Regions from separate parts of the Homo sapiens genome. Here region 1 is linked to region 2. The links are contacts of gene promoters, found by promoter capture Hi-C in blood cells and fetal thymus (Javierre and others, 2016). All regions are on one chromosome and are shown on one strand. Each heading gives the region's core, a stretch centred on a gene start or on the middle of the fragment in contact. The rest is flanking DNA. Distances are from core to core; before and after follow the strand shown.

What was found. Contacts are between HindIII fragments. The CHiCAGO score rates a contact against its expected background, and 5 or more counts as called.
Region 1: a fragment that was not itself captured here is called in contact with the fragment with the promoter of ADAMTS8 in region 2 in 5 of 17 cell types (naive B cells, total CD8 T cells, total B cells and 2 more); the score reaches 7.9 in naive B cells.

The regions. Positions count from the first base shown.
Region 1 is chr11:130,216,826-130,223,434 of GRCh38, forward strand. No RefSeq gene overlaps it. Among named protein-coding and RNA genes, the nearest start is that of ST14, 60 kb to the left of the region's middle. The HindIII fragment of the contact is 2,414 bases long and covers 2,387-4,800 here.
Region 2 is chr11:130,424,288-130,430,238 of GRCh38, forward strand. It overlaps ADAMTS8 (ADAM metallopeptidase with thrombospondin type 1 motif 8), which reads right to left and starts at 4,322. Exons shown (of 9, transcript NM_007037.6): 1 at 3,280-4,322. The coding sequence starts at 3,999. The HindIII fragment of the contact is 10,262 bases long and covers 2,575-5,951 here.

The sequences.
Region 1 (6,609 bases), core at 2,344-4,843, 210 kb before region 2:
CGACCAGCCTGAGCCGAGCACAGGAAAGGTGCCTCTCTGGGGCCTTCTGGGGTGTGTGCGGGGACCTTTATGACCCTCCAAGGCTCAGTGGAGTTGCTGTTTCCCAGGAAAGCAGCTGCCTGAGGGACATCCTTTCAGAACTGGAACCTCACGGTTGGAAAGAACCTGAAATTCAAGGTGACCTACGCCAGATGCCCACGAGGCATTTTAATCCGTCCTAATGTGGGAGCACGGACAGGCCCGTCCAGCCTGGGACCCCACTGTGCTTCCACCCCGTCTTTGTGCCCCTGACCTTGCCAAGTGGGATGCCAAGCGGCCTCTTCCTGTCCCCTGCGCTGGATGTGAGAGCTGGAGAGGCCCTGGAAGAGTGACTGCTCCAATCTGTATGTCAAAGAAGTGTCAGGGACTCTGGCGGCGTGGATGCATCCTCTCACTTCACCTCTCACTTCAGCGTCATCACAGTCCTCGGGAGTGGGTTCTGTCATTCCCAGTTATAGGAGAGGACGCTGTGGCCGTGCAGATAGAGAGCCTGCTGCTCACGGTTCCTCAGTAGGGGAAGAGAAGGGTGCACCTGGGCCACTGGGTCCACCCGCACAGCCTCCTGCAGCCAATGCATGCTCCACCTGGGGCTTTAGGTGCTGGAGCCAGGACCTCTCTCGCCAGGTCATAAACTCACTGGCTTAGGCACACGTGGAAAAGGCCAAAACAGACTTTCGCTGGCAGGACTCCAACCCGGCTCCATTAGCATTTCAAAATCTTCCCCATGTCCTTTCTTTCCTTGGCCACCCCCAGCAGCCCCTGGGCATTTCCCTCTCTAAGGGGCCAAACCATCTGCTTCGTCTTACTCCTCTGCCTGGGGCAGTGTGGACTGGAGGGAGAATATGTTTCCTTGAGGTCTTGGCCGTGGGCACTAGAACAACATGTTCTGTCCTCTGATTCAGGAGGATCAGCCTGTGACCCTCGTCTTCCTCCCTGAGCAGTTCAGTTCTGCTGAAGGCTGCTTGGCCTTGCGGGAAGCTTAAGCAAAGGGAACAGAGGCCAGGGGTGATGGGGCGGGCCTCGGACTGGAGCCTAGAGGGGAAGGGCTGGAGAGAGATTCTGCAGGGCCGGCCCCTGTGCCCAGATTTTCCAGTCCCAAAGAAGACCCACAAACTGGACCTGTGTGGGGGGCACAGAAATATTCCTGCATCATCAGTAACAAGGATTTTCACTGGGACCTGGGGACATGTAGCAAGACCCAAGCTGAAAATATAATTCCATTTTGTTCTAATTCAAAGGCTTCTGAAAAACGAATGAGTGGTTCACAGCTTGAACTATTTTGTTGGGTATTTATTTTAAACAAAAGACATTTAATTTTTTTTTTTTCTTTTCTGAGATGGAGTCTTGCTCTGTTGCCCAGGCTGGAGTGCAATGGCGTGATCTTGACTCAATGCAACCTCTGCCTCCCCAGTTCAAGTGATTCTCTCACCTCAGCCTCTCGAGTAGCTGGGATCACAGGTGCCTGCTACCATGCCTGGCTAATTTTTGTATTTTTATGAGAGATAGGGTTTCGCCATGTTGGCCAGGCTGGTCTCAAACTCCTGACCTCAGGTGATCCACCCGCCTTGGCCTCCCAAAGTGCTGAGATTACAGGCGTGAGCCACCACGCCCAGCCTGGTTTAGTTTTTAAAATAATGTTTTGTAAGTTTGGGTTCAGTAAAGATGATTTGGGCCTGGTTCAGTGTCCGCCCTGGGACTCACTGCAGTGAGGGCAGCAGGGAACGCACAGTGTGTTTCAGCGGGGCCAGCTGGGCAGCAGGGCAGGATGGATGTGTGGTTCAGAAGGCAGCTTTGGGCAGCCCACCTCTCTCCACAAGCCCCTGCCCACACGGTTTATGGTGCGTCTTGGTGAAGCATAGACGTCGAACACCTGTGTTTCCATGAGTAGAAACATCAGGCCTGGAGGCCTCAGATTTGGACACCGCTGTGAAGGTGGCGTTCCAGGGGCTGGCCGGGCTACCTTCCTGTGCCCTGACCCTCACCCCGGGTGTTTTGGGCATACAGTGGGGAACTCACTGTGTCTTGGAGAGGCTGGCAGACACCTAAAGTCCCACAAGCGTTTCCTGAACACTTGACCAAAACGGTCCATCTCTGCACACATGGAGCAGGCCTCACTTCTGTGACCTTGGAGAGTGGTAAGGGCTGGAGCCACACAGGAGTCCCTGGCACATTCCCGGGTTGGAGCAGGTTTATGGGAGGCCAAGGGAATTTGGGAACATGGTCACTACTATGGGGAACCAAGTCCTCTCTTTGCTGTCTTCTCAGGGGTATAGAGATGCTCCTCAGATCACCTCTGCCAGAGCTTGGATTTCTTATTTAATGTACCTGGAAGCCTTCACATCTATAAAGCTTTTCTTCTCCAAGGTTAAATAATGCTGCTAACCTGCTATGTTCATATTAAGGCCTAGGGAAGTGGATGAAGACTTGGGGTGGGGCTTGCTAAGGTCCTGCAGAGCTGGCACGCACCACTTTCGGTACGGGGGCACCAAGGAGCACCCCGAGCCGTGAAGGGCTGGACTTCTCTGTGAACAGTTCATAATTGGCGTTCCTTCATTTCCGAAAATGCCCAAGGGAGGGAGGAAGTATATTGAGGCTCATATCGTACTTGGGGTGTTTAACTGTAACCTGATTACCAGACTTGCATTCCTGTGGACCCATTTCCAGTAGCTTCACTTTTTTTTTTTTTTTTTTTTTTTTTTTGAGACAGAGTCTCTCTCTGTCACCCAGGCTGGAGTGCAGTGGCGCGATCTTGGCTCACTACAAGCTCCGCCTCCCGGGTTCACGCCATTCTCCTGCCTCAGCCTCCCGAGTAGCTGGGACTACAGGCGCCCGCCACCACGCCCGGCTGATTTTTTGTACTTTTAGTAGAGACGGGGTTTCACCGTGTTAGCCAGGATGGTCTCGATCTCCTGACCTCGTGATCCACCCGCCTTGGCCTCCCAAAGTGCTGGGATTACAGGCGTGAGCCACTGCACCCGGCCAGTAGCTTCACCCTTCTGTCTCCCCATGTGTTCATCTAGAGGGTACTCACTGGCGTCTGTTTGCCAGGCCTTGTTCTAGGAACCAGGAGTACCGCTGGGATCCTCCGAATAACGCCTGGAGGGCAGCGAGGTGCAGGGAGGGGAAGGGACGCGCATGGCAAGCTCCTGCCTCGCATCCCCACGCACCGAGAGCCCTCCTGCCTGCACGTCTACCACAGGCGGAAGGAGGGAACCTTCCAGAGGCAGAGGGTACGGGCTGAGTGGTTTGTAAACATTTCATCAGCACTCAGCCACTGAAGGATGAGTTTTTGGCTCTGGAAAGGTAAGCGTGTTTCTTACCACATGTTCCTGTCACTCTGGATCCACATGACCTGGAACCTGCCATGGCCACCCAGATGCTTTTCATCCTTCTTAAGATGCGTGAGCCTCCTCTGTTTTGGACACTGGCTATTCTTGTAACGGCACCGTGGACAACTTCTGGGAAGCATGCACCGAACCTTAGTGTCTCTGAGCACAGGTTACAGAGCTGCTCACTCCCCGCACCTACAGGTGGCCTCTTGGGATGCCGTGTGGGGAGAACCAGGGACGAGGCCCACACTCCGAGGTTCTGGAGCTTGGGCGCTGCATGCTGTGTGGGTGGCAGCTGGTTCCCCTGGAGACTGAGGGCTGCTGGGCAGAGCCGAGCTGCTTGGTGGTTTCCCTGCTCTTGGCTCTGCTCATCCCTCTGCCCCACTCCCTACCTACGCTTTCCTCTGGAAGAGGAACTGGAAAGTGCGCTGATGCACACGAGAGGTGGGGCAAACCGATGACTGTGCCTGGAACGGTCCAGGTGGAGAGACAATCAGCAAATTGGGGCAATTCCTTCCACACCTGATGCCTGTTAACAGAGGCCAGTCAGGGGCTGGCTGCCACGGCAGGCTCCACGGGGAGCACGGCGATTTGTGTGTGTGGAAGGGCTCTTGTTGTCATGTACCTCATGGGTGGAGGCACAGGGCCCTACTGTCCAATCCCACCAGGGTCTGGGAGAAGGCATGTGGGTGGGCATGACTGGTGGTTACAGAGCATTCCGATGACATGGGGAGGACTAGGGGTCCAAAGGTTCTCTCTTACTCAACTGGGGAGGCCTCTCCTTCAGTTTTCCCTACTCTCCATTGAGATAAGTTGTACACGTCTGTGTGTCTGTGTAGATACATGTGCATGTATTGGCGTACTTACAAAGCACAACGTAAAGTTAGAACTAACTCTTCCTCCAAAGCTAGTCTGTGCCAGTGTTTCTCTTGAGACCACAAGGAAATCCCTGCCGTGTGTGACAGCCTGTATCTATGTAGGGGACTGGAATGCTCATAGGCAAGTGGCGGGGGCGGGGTTCGTACTGGCACATATCGGGTACTATCGGATGAATCAATGCAAATGCACAATGCCCCTGTTTAAATCTCATCCCCTTCCCAGGCCTTCTCCAGGGCAGTTAAACGTTCTTATGAAAGCCATTTCATATCTACTGAATGAACACATGGCACATGCCCGTGAAGCACATCTGCACGCATAGGCATTCTGCGTCCTACACGCAGGAGTAGCTGTGTAGTCAGCCAGACTCTCTGTGGGAAAGACGTGTCTCGGGATCTGACAGGTACAGGTCTTTTAAATGGCATTTTAAATTCCCACAGATGCCAACAATTTGGATATGGAGAATGAGCTCTTTTAAAAATTAAAATCTATAAGTGCCGCAAGCACCTGCCTCTAGCTCACAGCCACAGGGTCCTTGGCTTGTGTTGGGGAAACAAGCTTCGACTTTGTCCAGGAAAAGCCATCTTTTTTTGAGCCAGAGTTTTGCTCTTGTTGCCCAGGCTGGAGTGCAGTGGCGCAATCTCGGATCACTGGAACCTCCGCCTCCTGGGTTCATGCGATTCTCCTGCCTCAGCCTCCCCAGTAGGTGGGATTACAGGCGCCCGCCACCACGCCCGGCTATTTTTTTGTACTTTTAGTAAAGTTGGGGTTTTACCACGTTGGCCAGGCTGGTCTCAAAGTCCTGACCTCAGGTGATCCACCCACCTCAGCCTCCCAAAGTGCTGGGATTAGCGACGCGGGGAATCTCTCCTTTAGCCTAATTCTGAAGCCCAACTCTTGAACTTGGCCTAATTCTTGCTCCATTTTCTCTCAGACAGTTCCCTCTCAAAGAAACCAACAACAGAAAAGGGAGGTTGCCTAAGCGTTTAAGGCCACACACTTGGTGTTGCTACAGCTTAGAATGCAGCAGCTATTCTCTACGGTGCACAGAGGACACCTGGACTGAAGATCAGGTCCGCCTCTCCCCACTCTCCCCACCTACCACGTCTCCGTCAGCCCCGATGTCACGAACACACATCCCTTCCTCTCCAGCCCTACTCCCATCCCCTTCTTCTGGGTTCTTACCCGAAGTTCTGTTGTAACTCAGGGGTCTCAGTTAAGTCCGTATGCATCCCTTTAATCTGCTTTTAATATTTCTAGAGAGGGCTCTGATGTTTCTGTGCTCGAAAATGTGAGACGATTCTCGATTTCCTACCAAATATAGCTGCAGTTCTTCAGGCCTTCTCTGACCTGGTGCTAGTCTAGTTTACAAGGTTTTCTTCCACTCTTTCCCTTCAGGGATCCTGCAAGGCTCAGCAAGCTACACTCCTTCTGTTCCCTCAACCTCTGAGGCTGCGTATTGCTTCCCGGAGTCATCTCCTTCTCCGTCACTTGTCTGTACAAATCCTACATCTCTTCCCAAGGAAGACCCAGCTCAAGTGGTGCCTCTGCCATGCTACCTTCCCTCACCCCTCCAGCCAGGTCTCCCACTTCTTCAAATTTCCAAAGTATACTTTTTGGTGTTTCTCTCAGGGCAATCAGTTATTTCTATCAGTTGTATTTCTGTAATTCTTCTTTACTTCTGCTTACTTCCATAAGTTCCTTAAGGGCAGAGACTTCATTCATTCAAACAACCTTGGGCCTGGGGACCCCCTGGTACAAGAAACAGATACGGTCACTGTCCTAGTGGAACTTGATGTAATGGGGTTTAGTCCAGCTGTTTAGTCAGTTACATTAGTAATAGAAGCGCAGGATGTTATGTGAACATAATACAAAGTCTCAACCTAGCAGGAAAGGCTCTGGGAGAGCTTCCTTAAGAAGGGATACTTAATATGAACTTAATGGATGAGGAAACCAGGTGAAGGGGAGAAAAACGGCAGATGCCAGTGTCCTAAAGAACAGTTCGGGGAAAGTCTAGCCAGGCTGATAGCAGTTGTTCTGAGGATTAAAGTTAGTATTAATTCATAACTCCTACAGCCTATTTCAGACCCTCATTTAAAAACGAGTGAGACTCTGAGACATTTGCTGAAGTGAGAGTTGAGGCTAATCATCAGGCAGTCTGATGAAAATAATTCTAGGTATTCTGTCCTAAAGTTCCCGGGTAAGTACCTGTAAGCACTGTCGTACATGGAGCTTATGACCACTTCTTGGCAACATTTAATCATTCCTTTGACAGTTTTTGAGTTCTCTGTACCAGGTACTACAGAGGACACACAAATAGAAGGCATATTCCCTGATCTCAAGAATGTAGTCAGGTGAGGGAGAC
Region 2 (5,951 bases), core at 3,072-5,571:
TCCTGAGGAAGCCACATGTCCTCTGTGAGCTGTGCAGTCTCCCTCTGCCCCCCTCACTGGTATTTTCATGGAGGTGATGTGTGTAAAACCACGCTGTGAATTGAACACGCTCAGAGAGTGGCTAAACCTTCCAGAAGACTGGCTCATCATGAAGCAGCCACACAGGTGCTCAGACCGGGATTGATCACCTAGTCCAGGTGTCCTGCTTCACAGATGAGGAACTCTAAGCCCTAGAGAGGTAAAGGCTCTTCTCATCCTCCACACCCCTGATTACCAAGAGTAATCACCCCAGAGTGCCTTCCCTCTGTGTGAATGAGGTCTCCACATAAAGGACTGGCTTCCATTTGCAGGAGGTGGGTGTGGGCAGCCAAGGTCTTGAGGCACGGGAACTTGATTTTCATTCTTCTCTCAGCTGGGCTCATGGATCTGTTTTCGGAAGCGCAGGGGACTGAGCTGAGACAGTCACGCCTGTCCTGCAGCATCTCCAAGGCTGGTCAGCTCATCATAGCACAGGGGCCCGAGGGTGGTCCTGGACACAGCTGTACCTCAGTCCCTCCCCCACCCGCCACGGTGGCAGCAGGAGCACAGGTGGGATGGGACATGAGACCCAGGGTGGAGGTGGCGGGGCTAGTCTCCCTGAGGGAAGACTTTTCTTCCAGGTGAGACTCAGAAGTCAACCCCCTAGGGAGAGGAACTCAGCCTTCAGAGGTGCCCGATGCCTGTTTTGCTGCGCTCTCCTGGTCCAGGTGGGCTGGCTGGGTGTGCAGGTGCCAATGTGCAGCTGGGAAAGGTCCAGAAATGCGTGTTTGTGGGGGATGGGGAGCGGGGCAAGCAGGAGCCACATCGCCCGGTCAGGAGTCTCATGAGGATGGCAATGCCTGGGTGTCTCTGACACAGAGAAAGCCGAATTGTCTGGGGCAGCAGACCTGAACTTTAAGCTGAAGGGAACAAAATCGGGTGCAAACCCAAGCAGAGTCTCCTGCTTCAGCAGCCCGGGCATCCTGGGGTCGGGCCTCAGAGCATGTCTGCCTCTAGATAGCTAGGATGTCTGGAGATGCGAGTATGTCCCTGAGGCAAATACTCAGTTATCTCCAGCGTCCAGGTGATCAGCTGAGAGAGTGAGACAGTCTGGCCCTGAAGGCTGAAAAATGGACTTTCTCTGCTGGCACGGAGTTCTCTTGGCTTTCCTATGTTTTGGTTCTTAGGTAGATGTCAGAATCTGTTCCATGTGTGGGGGTAGAGGGGTGTAGCACCCCGCTCTGGGTTTGCAATGGGTGCATCTTAGCTTCTTACTTTTTTTGTGTTTTTCTTTTTTCTTTTTTTTTTTTTTTAAGATGGAGTCTTGCTCTGTCACCCAGGCTGGAGTGCAGTGGCGCGGTCTCCGCTCACTGCAAGCTCTGCCTCCTGAGTTGACACCATTCTCCTGCCTCAGCCTCCCGAGTAGCTGGGACTACAGGCGCCCACCACCACGCCTGGCTATTTTTTTTGTATTTTTAGTAGAGACGGGGTTTCACCGTGTTAGCCAGGATGGTCTTGATCTCCTGAGCTTGCGATCTGCCCACCTCGGCCTCCTAAAGTGCTGGGATTACAGGCTTGAGCCACCGTGCCCGGCCATCTTAGCTTCTTTCTGGTGGAGCCCCCTAGGAGCCAGGTGTGGGGGTCCTAAAGAGATGGGAGAAGCCCTCTTCTCACCCCTCTCCTGCCACACTCTCTAGTACTTGCTTAAAGAAAGGAGTCAGAGGAGAGGGCTGGTGCTCCCACCGCTCCGTGCTCTCAGGACAGGCAGGGAAACAGGTGTTAAATCAGCGTGACCCAAAGCTGCTCTGCCCTGCTTTTGGGGAAGCAAATACCACAAGGGCTTGCAGGGGTGCGTCCCTGGGGTGTAGTCAGCACCTGCAGTAGCCAGAGGGGCAGCCACGTGGACTCTCACCCACAGCAGTTCCCATCCTAATCATCTGTTTCTCCCTGGGTCTTTCCTACCCTGCCTTTCCCAGTGATAGAGGGTGGGAAAGATGGGGTGAGAAACAGAAGGCTGATCGCCTCCTTGTCTGGACTATTCTGCACAGGCAATGCCTATGCCCTTGGGGCCCCCAGCAGTCGGGCACAGACTGAGCCTAGTATTGGGTCCCGGCCAAGGATGCCATCACCACAAAGTGTCAGCTTAGCTGCTGCATTGCCAGGATCCCTGTTTCAGGGAACTATGACGTCTGGGCAGGTCAGTTCTTCCTTCCCTGGCACATCTCTGGTTCTGTGCTCCCTAGGGGCAAAGAGCACCCCTCTTCTGGAAGCCTTACCCTCTTTTCCTCCTGGAAAAGCCTTCACCTGGTCTTTAGGGGAGAAATTGGGGTTTAGGGCAACACAGACACCTCCTGCTGAGTCAGCACCATCTTTGCATCTAGTTAGAAATGGTCTGGTTAGGTAGCCATCCCCTGGACTCTGTTTTTCTCCCCTGTTTAGGTAAGAGCTGTGTCTGGGCTAAGGGCAGCTGGGTGGACCAAGTGTGGGTCTGGCTTTACTAGAGACATTCACCCAAAGAGCTCGTTCCAGCCCCTGCGCCCCTCGCGTTTCCACCAAAGCTTCAGCTCCTGGGCTGAGCCCCCAGGCAGAAGTTCTCTGCCCCTCCCTCTTGTGCTGGCTGCTGGCATTGCCAAGTTCTGCCGGGGCTGAGCGCCAGGTTGGCAAGGTAGTCCATGCCCCATTGATCACAACCAGCTGGCTGCACAGAAGTTGGGCAGCCCCTCTCCAGGTTCAGCTCCTTTCAAACAATGTCTTTTGCTTATGGCGACCTCCATACCCAAGGGAATCAGACAGCCATCTCTCTCCATCCCATCTGCCTTTCCCTGGGAGCCTCTCAGATCTGGAGGCAGTAGAGGGCTGAGGGGTGGGAGTGGGAGCTATTCGTAAACGCTCAATTTTCATCTCTGCTGGGAGAGGCAGGTGCCGGGGAATGCGTTGATACCCACTTTCGGGTCAGTGCGCCACGTGCCGCGGGAGATTCGGATGAGAGGGATGGGCGTCGGCAGCCCCACTCTAAACTGGAAGGGACCTGGGGGTGGGGGCGCAGGGATCCAGGGTGGCAGAAGTTCAGAAAAGAGTTACTGCTCTTTCTCAGACAGGAGAGAATCTCGTTTGGGGTAAGGCTGGAGAAGATGAGTGGGGAGGGCTTTTTTTTTTTTTTTTTTTTTTTCTCAGAGGGATTGGAAGGGGAGATTTTAGAGACGCTGGGAGGCGTCTGGGGGGCCTCCGGGCACGGCGGCTGGAGGAGGCTCTCAGTCCTACCTGCAGGTCGGCCCCGTAGAAGGCAGCCATGGACGCATCGGCCACCAGCAGCGTCTCCACGAAGCGCGCCTCAGACACAAACCGCTTGGTCCTACTCGTGGCCCCCAGGGGCGGTGGCGGCTCGCTAGCGCCTTCTGCCTCCTCTTCTTGGCTCTCCTCCTCGCTGTCCTCCTGGTGGTCTCCTCTCTCCTGCCTCTGACCCTCTCCCGTCTCCACCTCCCACTCGGGTCCTCGCGGGAGGGGGCGGGCTCCGGCGGGACCCCAGCGCTGCAGGCGGTGCGGCTGAGCCAGGGAGCCCCCCGCGCCCTGCGGCTGGATGGTGAACTCCTCGCCGTCCAGCAGGAAGGAGCCGCTCAGCCCGCGGCACAGGCTGACCGCCGCCAGCGACTCGGGCTCCCCATTCACGGTGCCGGAGAAGAAGCAGCCGCGCAGCCCCCGCTCGCCCCCGGTCGCCCGGCCGGAGCCCCCGAGGCGCTCGATCTTGAACTCGGGCGCTAGGAAGCTGTCGTCGGGCGCCAGGCGCAGCACGAAGCCCTTGCCGAAGGCGGACAGGTGGAGCGCGAGCTCGCCCGCGCTGCCGGGCAACCGCGTGGGCACCACCAGCTCCGAGGCCTGCCCCCCGGCTGCGGGCCGGGCCGGGGCGCCGCGGGCCAGCGGCAGCAGCAGCAGCAGCAGCAGCAGGAGCGGAGGCCACCGGGGGGCGGCGGGGGCGGGGAGCATGGGGGCTGCGGCGGTGGCTGCGCGCAGGAGAGGGAAGAAGCCCGCCAGGCGCGGGCAGGTGCTGGCGGCCCGAGCGCGGCCCGGCCGCTCTCTCCAGGAAAAGCGGAATCAATCGGGTGCAAGGCCGACTCGGCCCGCGGGGCCCGGCGGCGGGAGCGCTCCCCCGGCGGCCCCTCTGGCTGGCGCAGCCCGCTCCTCCCGCGCCGCCGCCCCCGAGCCGAGCGCGAGCAGCTGGCCCCGGCCCGCGTGCGCCCGTCCTCCGCCCCTGCCCGCGCCAGCCCCGCGCAGCCGCCTCCTGCCTCCTCCCCACCCCGGGAAGCACCGAGTGGGCTGCCGAGCCCTTCTTATTTATACTTCCTTCCCGGCTTGACATAAGAGGTTTATTTTTGATCTCTCACTATTCCCGTTTCCCCTCCCCTGGGATCAGAGAGAGAAACTGAAAAGAGGGAGAGAGAGTGGAGAAAAAAAAATTGGGATGAAATGCAAAACCAATCAGGCAGCGAGACCCGTCCGCCACCCGCCCCCCTGAAGTGTCAACTACAACTTCTTTCCTTTCCCTCTACGCGTGGACCCACGTTAACCCCTACCATGCTGGACTGACCCTTTAGAAAGAGTCCCTGGGAGACCCCAACCGCTTTCTCCTCTGCGGCCAAGAGTCCAGGATGCATCTTCCGAAGAGGCTCGTGCACTGGTCTCAGCGACCCTGTTCGGATCCCTGCAGAGTCCGACTGCAGAGCCCGACACTGTTGGGATCCCTGCAGATGCCTCCGGAGATCCGACTGTGTGGGGAGAAGGTTCCTGAGCTTTTCATTGTAAAGCATAAAGGGAGAGGAGGAAAAGGTCATGCTAAAATCATGCCCTCCTCTCATCACTACTGCACAGCCTTCCTAACTTTCACTCCAAACTGAAGATGGGGAAAACAAAAACAAAACAAAAAACAACCCACCTGGTTAACCCTAAGAGGGACTCTCACTGTCCTGTTAGAGGGCAGGTGGGGCAGAGGCCAGCACAGTGGTAAGTTACCAGCACTGAGGTTGGAAGTTAGCATTTCCCCAAGAGGGAAACAGACCTCCAGTCCCTGAAAAAGGTCTTCTCTTCTGGATACTGCTAGTTGCCCGGGACTTCAAGTAAGGTGGCAGGCCCTTTCACTGCGTTGCCACAGCCCCAGGAACAAATGTGTATGAGGTGAATTTATTCTGTCCCATGTCACCACTGCCCCCTAGGGAAGGGGGTAGTATTCAGGAAGAGAGGGATGACATGGTCTCAAGACCACAAAACTGCATCCCATCCCAGTCTCAATGACACAGGTCTGGATTGGGTGGAGGGCCCTGTTCTCTACCTACAAACTCTAGACTCATCCACCAACTGTGCCTTTCTCTGAGTTGTCAATGTGGGTGATGCATTAGGAACCGCTGGGATCAGGGCCTTTAAATCCTTTGCCAATTCACCTGCCCCCAGGTACCCAGCTCTGTGCTTATGCTGGGGATGTTGACAGTCGAGGTCATCGCTGATTCTTTTCAGCCCATCTGACCCCTTCCTGCAGTGTGGTGGTTCAGCATGCATCTGAGACTCTCAGGGCTTGTTACCTCCAAAGAGGAGGCTCTTGCCCAGGGGAAAGTGCTGCCAAATTCCCTCTAAGTATCCCCCCTCTCTTTGCTTTCTCAGAAACACAGAGGGACAGCTGTGAATTAGATGAAAGGATGAACTTCCCAACCTAGCATGGTGCAGAACCTCCTTTCCTGCATAATTTATAGGATAGGAATAACGAGTCTAGAATGTTTTGGGGAAACACTTCTAGAGGAAGGACAATGGAAAGAATGGTCTCTTCAACCCTTTTCTCAAAACAAGCAAAACACTTCGTCCTAGCACAGTGTACAGTGCTTGGGACATCCTGTACAGTGCTTGGGACAGTCTGACCTGGGCAAGCAATGAATACAACTCTGTGTTGCCTC